Linked DNA regions of Homo sapiens: region 1 is linked to region 2. Evidence: promoter capture Hi-C in human tissues and cell types (Jung and others, 2019). All regions are on one chromosome and are shown on one strand. The core of a region is centred on a gene start or on the middle of the fragment in contact, and the rest is flanking DNA. Distances in the headings are between cores, read along the strand shown.

Region 1 (5,601 bases), core at 1,965-4,464, 63 kb before region 2:
GCATATGAAAAGGTGCTCCTATCTTGGGGTCCTCAAATTATCTTTGTGTGTTGTTCACCTGTGCATTGTTGGGAGTACATACTCCCAGATTTTGTCATATATTTAAAGGGGTACTGAACCAAAAAAGGGGGATTAAGATAAACTAACAAACTATATCTGGCATTAAGAATAGGACACACAGGCAACCAAAGCAAACCTGGACAAATGGGATCACATTAAGTTAAAAAGCTTCTACACAGCAAAGATATAACCAACAAAGTGAAGAGACAACCCACAGAATGGGAGAAAGTATTTTCAAACTACTCCTCTGATAAGAAATTAATCACCAGAATATATAAGGAGTCCAAACAACCCTACAGGAAAAAATCTAATAATCTGATTAAAAAATGGGCAATGATTTGAATAAATGGTGAACAGGCATATGAAAAGATGCTCAACATCACTGATGTCAGAGAAATGCAAATCAAAACTACAAGAGATACCGTCTCACCCCAGTTAAAACAGCTTGTATCCAAAAGACAGGCAATAACAAATACTGGTGAGGATATGGAGAAAAGGGAACCTTTGTACACTTTTGGTGGGAATGTAAATTAGTACAACCACTATGGACAACAGTTTGGAGGTTCCTCAAAAAACTGAAAATTGAGCTACCATATGATCCAGCAATCCCACTGCTGGGTATATACCCAAAAGAGAGGAAGTCAGTATATTGAAGAGATCTCTACACTTCTGTTTGTTGCAGCTCTGTTTACAACAGCTAAGATTTCGAAGCAACCTAAGTGTCCATCAACAGACAAATGGTAAAGAAAATGTGGTACATATACACAATGGAGTACTATTCAGCCATAAAAAAGAATGACATCCTGTCACTTGCAACAATATGGAGGAAATTGCAGATTATTCTGTTAGGTGAAATAAGCCAGGCAAAGAAAGACAAACATTGCATGTTCTCACTTATTTCTGGGATCTAAAAATCACATCAATTGAACTCACGGACATAGAGAGTAGAAGGATGGTTACTAGAGGCTGGGAAGGGTAGTTGGGCATTGGCGGGGAGGTAGGGATGGTTAATGGGTACAAAAAAGCCCAGGAAGAATGAATAAGACCTACTATTTGATAGCACAATAGGATCACTACAGTCAATAATAACTTAATTGTGTATTTTAAAATAACTTAATGTAATTGGATTTTTTGTAACTCAAAGGATAAATACTTGAGGGGATGGATACCTCATTCTCCATGATGTGCTTATCTCACACTGCATGCTTACATCAAAACAGCTCATATATTCCATAAATATATACACCTACTATGTACCCACAAAAATGTTAAAAAATAGTTTAAAAAATTTAAAAAAGAATGGTACAAATTATGTCATGTTCATTCAACAAATATAATAAACATTAATATATTAATATTAATATTTACTGTATCCAAAACACAATTACTCTTTGCATGTGAAAATAATACTACTCTATAACTAGTATATCACAGTTCATTTTAATTTGTTTTCATTTTTTTCATCCAGTAAGGGAGATGATTTGGGCAGATTTCACACCCCACTTGTCTTCCACAGGGTCAAGAGTCACACAGGGAAGCAGTGCAATTCTTGCAGAGTTTAAGGACTGAATATGCAACCTTCCCTACCTAAAAAAAGCTGACTTGTATAGCACCTAACTGTGATTCCCTTTTTTTTTTCTCAGAGAAATGTTTTAAATACTTGTTTCAAAGTTATCTTCCCCAAAACAGGAATACCTTTTGTCATTCTTTCTACACAGAAATGTGGAGTACTGATGACACGTTTACGCTCTCAATGCTCTAAAGGCTTGAATTGTATCATCCTAGAAATTTATCCTATTATCACAATAAACTTAATGATAATGATGACGATGATGATGATAGCAGCAGCTAACATTTGTTGAGCGTTTAGTATGTGCCAGGCACTATTCTAAGCATTTTCCATTGATTAACCTCAGTTACTCCTGATAAAGACCCTACCAGGATCCCAAGTACAGAATTAGTTTGCCCAAGGTCACCCAGAAAGAAAGTACTAAAGCTTTAATTCAATGTTAGTCACTGGCAGAGCCTGGACACATTGCCACTGTGTCACTGCAGATGTCTACCCAGGTTTTGCAAAACTGGCTGCTTAGAATAATAATGCCATGTTGCTAGCGGCCACTGAGAATTCTTAAGTACTTCATCAAAGGCAGGTAATACATTTTTGGATGTGATACTTTGAAAAGTACAAGCAGTCTAACTTTCATCTCCCTCAGTGCTGTGGACAAGCAGATGGTCTCCACGATCATATGGGCTATCATCACTGAGCAGCAACCTTCTCTGGGACCCTCTGGGGTGCTTCTTTCTTACCCATGAACCATTTCACCTCCCTCTTCAAGGCCTTACTCTTAACTTTTCCTTTCAACTGACCAATATGCACACAGTCAAAAACTTCACCTTGTACTTGACAGAATAAAAATCCAACAGGATCAGCTGAGAACACCTTCAACTTTCTGTTCCCCACTCATAAGAGAGTACATTTGTAAATATCCCTTCCTTCCTTCCTTCCTTCCCTCCCTCCCTCCCTCCCTCCTTCCCTTCCTCCCTCCCTAGAACACCTTCAACTTTCTGTTCCCCACTCATAAGGGAGTACATTTGGAAATATCCCTCCCTTCTTTCCTCACTCCCTCCCTTCCTTAGAACACCTTCAACTTTCTGTTCCCCACTCATAAGGGAGTACATTTGGAAATATCCCTCCCTCCCTCCCTCCCTTCCTTCTTTTCTTCCTTCCTTCCTTCCTTCCTTTGGAAATATCCCTTCCTCCCTCCCTCCTCGGTAGAAAGCAGGACTTTGCAAAATTTCTAGGATGATTATTTCCACCTGCCTTGTCAGGAATCTCACCTCCCTCTGCTAACTTCAGACACTCAAACTGATAAGCATGCTCAAGTTTCTCCCACTATAAAAGCAAAAGAAAACAAAAAACTCGTTAGGATTGTGTGCCTTGGTCTCCAGTCCTTATCATCTGTCCATTTGCAGCCAAGCCAAATGAAAGATTATTTAATGTTCTTGTGTTCACGTCCACATTAAAAAACCCACTGCTATCTGTCTCACCTCCTCCTTGAAATGACTTTCAGTCATTCTCTACAAAATTATCAATCACCTTCTGGTTACTAAATGTCCATTTGAATCCTTACTTTACTGCCTCCTTTGCAACATCTGACACTGTTGAGTTCTGTTTCTTTCTTGACCTCTAGCACATCACATTCCTGATTTTCCTGACTTCTTTCTGTCCCCTGTATCCTCCTTTGTGGATTTTCCCTGCATCTATCCTTTAAGGCTTCCTGAGTCTCTGAGGTTGCATTTATAATGGATTGTTCTCATTGGTTAATCTTTCTGAGGGTTAGTTACTCTTCCACTCCCATGGTTTCAACTCCACATATATATACAGTGCAAGCTCCCACATGTTAAAACACCAGTCCAGATCTCTATACTAAGCTTCTGATATCTACGTTTAATTCCCTACTTGATGTCTTCAGTCAAATACCTCAAACTCAACAGTCTAAAAACAAACTCATCACTTCCCATGTCCCCCTGACTGCCCACTTTCATTTTTTTTTTTTTTTTTTTTTGAGACAGAGTCTTACCCTGTCACCCAGGCTGGAGTGCAGTGGCATGATCTTGGCTCACTGCGACCTCTGCCTCCCGGGCTCAAGAGATTCTCTCGTGCCTCAGCCTCCCGAGTAGCTGGGATTACAGGCATGCACCGCTATGTCTGGCTAATTTTTGGTATTTTAGTGGAGACAGGATTTTACTGTGTTGCTCAGGGTGGTCTCGAACTCCTGAGCTCAGGTGATCCGCCTGCCTCAGCCTCCCAAAGTGCTGGGATTACAGGCGTGCACCACCATGCCTGGCTAATTTTTGGTATTTTAGTGGAGATGGGATTTTACCGTGTTGCTCAGGGTGGTCTCGAACTCCTGAGCTCAGGTGATCCGCCTGCCTCAGCCTCCCAAAGTGCTGGGATTACAGGCGTGAGCCACCGTGCCTGGCCTCCTTCATGTTCCTTATCATGAAAATGGCACAGAAAGCAAAGTAATATCCCCTCCCGACTTTTCTTCTGCTTCCTCTCTCCCTCAACCATCAACAAAATCCTACTTTATTAATTCTTCAAACAATCATTTACATCTTTTGATCTCCAATGCTACTTAGTCCAGGCTTTGGAGTACTCTTTGTTTCATTTTGTTTACCTCACATATTTATTTATTTGCAGTGAAAGTACTTAAAATCTACTCTCTTGGCAATTTTCAAGTATACAATGCATTGTTACTAACTATAGTCACCATACTGTACAATAGGTTGCTTGAACTTATTCCTCCTAACAGAAATTTTGCATGTCTTGAACAACATCTCCTTAGTCCTTTTCCCCCCATGCCCATCCCCTGGTAACCAACATTCTGCTTTCTGCTTCTATGAGTTTGACTTTTTAAGATTCCATATATAAAGGGGGACCATGTGGCATTTGTCTTTCTGTGCCTGGTCTATCCTACTCAACGTAATGTCCTCCAGGTTCATCCATATTGCTGCAAATGACAGTATTTCCTTCTTTCTAAAGACTGATTAACATCCCATTGTTAAATATACTAGATATTCTTTATCCACTCATCTATCAATGGGCACTTAGGTGGTTTCCATATCTTGGCTATTGTGAACAGGGCACAATGAGCATGGGAGTACAGATATCTCTTCAACATACTAATTTCATTTCCTTGAGATATAGATGCAATAGTGAGATTCTGGATCATCTGGCAGTTCTATTTTAAGTTTTTTGAGGATCCTCCATACTGTCTTCTGTAATGGCTGTACTACTTTACATTCCCACCAACAGTATACAAGGGTGCCCTCTTCTCTGGAGCACTCTTTTTACAACACAAGTCTGATCATACAACTCCACTAATTAAAATACTTCAATAATGCCCTTGTGTTCAGGATAAAGTGAAAACTCCCTCCATGTGAAAATGTGACCACTTTTCTGGACTCCCTTTTGCCCCATTGCAGGCTATGCCTCAATCATATTTGATTTTGCCTCTGGGCTCCTCCGCATGCTTTTGTTCTACCCAGGACATACTTTACACATATTTTTCTTGCTTAAATCCTTCAGGTCTTACCTCAGACATCAAATTCTTTTGGAAGCCTTTTGTAATACCTCAAAACTGTATCAGGTGATCCTTAACAAGACTTGCTCCTGTAGCAACCTGTGCTTATTCCTGTCATTTTTACTTATCCTATTCTAGCAAAATTGTTTGTTTTCCCTATTATCCTATAAATTCTTTGAGGGCAGAAACTGTGCCTTGTTTATTCTGGCATCTCTAATACCTTGCTCACTAACCTGACATAAAGTAGGTGCTTAAGAAATAATTGTTGAAATTCAAAAAGAGGTTAATAGAGATAGTGTGAGGTTTTTCTAAATAGTGATCTCTAGCTACAGAAAACTCAAGGTCAAGCAGGGACATAGGTGACAAAGGAGAGCACCAGACCACTAGTCCAAGGGACATAAATTAAAGGGAAGGAAGTGTGATTGTGTATGTTTGTTTTGTCTAGCGTGTAATG
Region 2 (5,159 bases), core at 466-2,965:
GTCTGGTGCACTCTCAAGCTTTCCAAGAAAAAAAACCAAGTTTTCAAATAAAAGCAGAGGAGGAAAGTTTCACCAGTGCTTGTTCTGAGAAACCTCTTAGCCTCTCTTTGCTTTGTTTTGCTCTTTCTGTTTTGCTTCCCTCTTAAAGAGTGCTGGCTTAAAACCTCAGTGAAAGAAAAGTACTTCAACTTTACTGTGGAAAAAGGAAACTGAAAAGTAGGCAAAGGCCAAGGGATACATTTTTTTAAACATTCACTCTTTCCTGGAATATACAAATGAAGCAAAATTACAAATTCATGTATTATGGGTCTGAAATATTTATTCCAATTCTTTTCTCCACCAGCTCCATAAATATTTATTCTATGCCCACTGCTTGTTAGTTTCTGGGATACCAGGCCGATGAGGCAGTCTCTTCCTCTCCTCCTTTGAGCAAGCTTGTGCTTGCAATCCTGTATAAGAAATAAGAGGAGGGCAACAACTTGTATCTTGTGCCTTCTACACATGCCAACCATAGCCTGAAGTTCACAGCAAAGTTAAATTCCAGTTAAGTAAACCAGTGAGGTCATAATACACTTAAATAACAACTGAGACGTGAGAAACTAACAGAGATCCTCAGTAAGTGTGTCGGTCACCTCTTCGCGCGAGCAGGGAGATCAGATCGAGAGCAGGACCTCCTCGCCAGTGATTTGGAATGATAAATGGGGAAGAGAAGGGGGTGAAGTTACCTGGGCGCTCAGGTAGACTTTGAGGCACTCCTCGCACACGGCCTTCTTGCAGCAAGGCAGGGGCTTGATGGGCTTGTCTTCCAGGCACACCCGGCACATCAGCACCATGAGGGGCACATAGGGATCCCCTACACCGCCCAGGCCAGAGTAGGGTGGAGCTCCCAACAGGCTGGGCATGGAGAACGGCTCGGGCGCCAGGTAGAACTCCAGCTCGATGCTGCCGCCGTCGGGGGAGAGGGAATCCGTTGGGAGGGACAGTCGGGGGCTGGGGAAGGAAGAGCGGGTGCTGGGAGGGTTCAACACTGGCGGAGCCCCAGGTGGCGACGCGGGCGGCGAGAGCTGCTCCGAGGCGGGGGCCTCGGGCAGGTCGCTCTCCACGCAGTACACGGAGCAGAAGACTTGTCTCTTGGCGAGGGACGGGCGCCGCTGACCCAGCACGTCCAGGACCAGTCCGTCGGCGGCCCCCACGCGGGTCCTGGGCTCCAGCTCTTCGCCGGGGGGCGCCTCCTGCTGTTCATCCCCTCCCTCTTTTCGATCCCCAGCTTCCTCCTCTTCCTCCTCCAGCTCCAACTGCAGTGGCAAGGTCTGGGGATTGAGAGGCCCGGTGAGTGCCAGTCCCGCAGGCTGCGCCGGTGCTCGGCTCTTACTCCAGCCCGGGGGCCCCAGGCTCCTCGCGGGCTCTGGGGCGCTGGTGTCCGCGCAGCCCCAGTCGCTTCCGCAGCCACCGCCGCTCGGCTCCGCGGAGGCGGCGCGCAGCGGGGGCGCCCGGGCGCTGTCCCCCTGAGGCCTCGGGGGCTCAGGGTGGCCCGCAGTGCCACTGGCCAGGGTCTGCGACTCCTGGGGCCCGCCGCCGCCGCTCACCGTGCTCTGCTCCTCGCCCATCGCCGCCCGCGGCCCGCGCCGCCGCTGCCCATCCAGCCGCCGGGACCCCCACCCGGCGCCCGCGGGCAGCGGGGGCAGTGGCTCGGCTCGACTCGCGGCTCCGCTTCTGCTTCCGGGTCCTTCCTCCTGGGCTGGGACGCCCCAAGTCCCCTCCGGGGAGCCCGTGCTCCGAGGCTGCGGCGCGTGGGGAGCCTGGCCCGGCCCGCCGCTCCTCCTCGTACTCTGGCGCGGCGGGGCACCGCCTCGGGGGCGCCGAGGGCCGCTCGCTCTGGGCTCGGGCGCGCCCGCCCCACATGCAGCTCGGGGCGGCGCCGCAGCCCCAGCGAGCCCCAGGCGGGACAGAGGGGTCTGGGAGGAGACGGCCGTCAGTCCCGCGCCATCACCGGTCCCGGCTGCCGGACGCGCGGCCCGAGGGCGGTGGTCAAAGGGTCGAGGGGCCTGTGGCGCCGCCGCGGCGCGCACCAGGAGGTGCAGCCGGAGCGCTGGCCAGCCGCAGGGCCCCTGGGGGAGAGGCCGGAGCGGGCGACCTCCCTCTCCCCGCGCTTCACCTACAGCCCTCCTCGCCGCCCCTCACCCCACCCCTTTGGCGCACACCTCCCCACACGTACACACGCGCGCAGGCACCCGCGCACACACACACGCACACCCTGAGTGGGTGTGATCTAAGAGCTGAGATGCGCTTTCTCGCCCGGAGTTCACACTCAGCCTCAACAAAACCCTCAGAGCAGGCAGGCTCCCCTTTGGTCTCCGCATTCAGTAGAACTTCCTACAAAACTACACTCAGCTCTGGAATTAGTAAACGCTGGCTATTTAGGATGTCGAGTTCAGAGAAATAATGCTAAGGATTATGAATTCTAAATGCTGTATATTACAACTCTGTTTTTCTGCCTAGTGGAGTAGGAAGAATCTTCGAAACCCATAAATAATCGAAAAAGCACTTTCGATCTACTCCTCCAACTGGAATCCTTAGAAGAGTTGATAACTAATTTAAAATTTCTCTCTTTTTCTTCGCCTACAGTGTTCTCTTAGAAGTTTTTTTTTTTAACCCTTTTCAGCATTCCAAAATGGATAGCACAAGGTGGAAAAATGTCCTGACCTAATTAATAAACTGGATCATTAGTGGAAATCATGGGCAGTTTCATTAGCATAACCATATTTATCCTCAAAACTGTTTCCAAAACAACAATTATATGTGAGCCAGGACTTAATTATGTGTTGATCTATCTTTATTTTACAGGAAGTATTACTCACCCAGACACTGGTGTTTTAGTTCCCTAAAGCCAGTGAAAACATTTTTGGGAAGCCAGCCCTTGTTTTGTTTTTTTTCTCCTGAGAGGGAATTCAATTTACACATTCATGTAATAGCAAGGAACTGTAAAGTGTGTAGAATTTTATTTTTTAATCTCGAAGTTGTTATTGGGTTGTTCTAAAATATTTTCCAAATCAGATGCAAATGATACAAAGGTGACTAGCGATGCAAACTAAGAAAGCAGTGTAATGCCAAAGAACATTTCCATCATATATGTGTGTCTGAGGCTCAGTTGCAAGCAAAGGTATGAATTGGATGTCTAAATGCCATGTCATCTATCGGTCTGACCCAAGAATGGAAAATTCTTATTTTGAAGATTAAATGCTATTCGAGGATTCTTTTCTTTTTTATCTCAGCTAAGTGATTTCCTGGTAACTGCTGTTTTCTCCAAATGATACTTTAAGTGCTTATTGTTTTAAAGACAGAGACAAGAAACCTACTTATGTGTGCCTTTTGAGTGTGCCATCTGATGACCAAGCCACTATTCTTTCCAGAGATATAAAAGTAATCTGCATTTTCCAGGTGACAACAGGCTAAGACCAGAGTAACAATAATGGATGCCAAAAAGTATATTCCCACAGCGTCTATTGGAATAAAACCCCTCAAAGTCCTCTTATAGTTTTGGGAACCCCTCCTCACACACATTTTTCACTCGTATTCTGAGAACTTGTTCTTCCAGTGTTTACCATTTTATTCCTTATCCCTTAGGTTCCAGCTTACTGGAAGTGGCTGTCCTCTACACCAAACCCATTAGAAGTCCCTGCTGGGACTCATGATGGCCGCCCATATCTCTGCTGCTTAAAACTGCAGCCCTTTATTTTGCCATGACTTCTTCCCTACAGAATTCATTGGGCCTTTGTGAAAATAGAATAATATGTGGTTCCCTATTTCCACCCTCCAAATTGGCCCAAACTTGCCTGAATCCTTGACCCACCACCCCTGGCATTCAATCTAGTGCTCATGGGACTCCAGCAGCATGGAAGTGAATTAAATTGAAAAGTTAACATCGTGGTTCCACAATGAATTTTCTCTGAAGTGCATGAAGCACCAGTAATGATTGTTTCGATGGGATTAATTATTTAAAGAAGGATTGGTTGAAAATATTTTATTAACCAATATTTAATATTTTAGCAAAAATTCCATTTATCTGCCACAAGCTTAATATTCTCAAAACTCAAACCATCTGCTCCATCTCAGGTTGTACACAACTGTTGATACAACGTAAGTACTATCACTAATATCCTGCTCCTACCAACATAAAGCCTCAAAATGTCCTAATCTGCAGTGAACTGTGTACCTTCCCTAAAATCCAGACTTCAATATCAGAAAACTATGTCAGTTTTAGAATGCTGTTTTTTCTATTATTGCCTTTCTTATCCTGGCATTAAAACATGACTTCTTTTTGGCTCCCTTCAATTTTTTTAAATCATTTTTATTAATGCATAATATTTGAACATATTTGTGGGATATATGTGATATTTTGATATATGCATACCATGTGTGATGATCAAATAAAGGTACACAGGATATTCATCACCTTGAACAGTTATCATTTCTTTGTGTTGGAAACATTTCAAATATTCTCTTCTAGCTGTTTTAAAATATACAATATATAGCTATAGTCAGCCTACTGTGCTATTGAACACTAGAACTTAGTCCTTCTATCTAAGTATATGTTTGTATACATATAACCAACTTCTCTTCATCTGCCCCTGTGTTTCCAGCCTCTGGGAACTATCATTCTCCTTTCTACTTCCATGAGATCAACTTTTTAAACTCCCATATATCAAGAACATGTGATATTTGTCTTTCTGTGCCTGCCTTATTTCACTTAACATAATGATCTCTAGTGCCATCCATGTTGCTGTAAATGACAAAATTTCATTTTTTATGGCTAAATAGTATTTTATTGAATATACATACCATATTTTCTTTATCCATTCATCTGTTGATAGACACTTAGGTTGATTCCATATCAACCTCTTGTAAATAGTGCTATAATAAATATAGGGGTGCAGATGTCACTTTGATTTACTGATTTCCTTTCCTGCTACTGGATAAATACCCAGTAATGAGATTGCTGGATCATATGGTAGTTATATTTTTAGTTTTTTGAGAAACTTCCAGACTATTTTCTATAATGACTATACATATTTATGTTCCCATCAAGAGTGTATAAAATTTCCCTCTTCTATGCATCCTGGCCACCTTTTGTTATTTTTTGTCTTTTTGATAATAGTCAT

The links. The method cuts DNA at HindIII sites, captures the fragments that hold promoters and counts their contacts. A contact is called where the count stands out against the background at its distance.
Region 1: a contact is called between a fragment that was not itself captured here and the fragment with the promoter of RNF217 in region 2, in 2 of the 25 tissues and cell types used here (mesenchymal stem cells and mesendoderm cells).

What each region holds. Positions count from the first base shown.
Region 1 is chr6:125,022,745-125,028,345 of GRCh38, reverse strand. All of the region lies in intron 1 of RNF217 (ring finger protein 217), which reads right to left. Among named protein-coding and RNA genes, the nearest start is that of RNF217-AS1, 63 kb to the right of the region's middle. The HindIII fragment of the contact is 4,143 bases long and covers 1,143-5,285 here.
Region 2 is chr6:124,958,993-124,964,151 of GRCh38, reverse strand. RNF217 (ring finger protein 217) reads right to left here and starts at 1,715. Exons shown (of 6, transcript NM_001286398.3): 1 at 726-1,715. The coding sequence starts at 1,607. It overlaps RNF217-AS1 (RNF217 antisense RNA 1), which reads left to right and starts at 1,125. Exons shown (of 7, transcript NR_026876.1): 1 at 1,125-1,329. The HindIII fragment of the contact is 7,226 bases long and covers 227-5,159 here.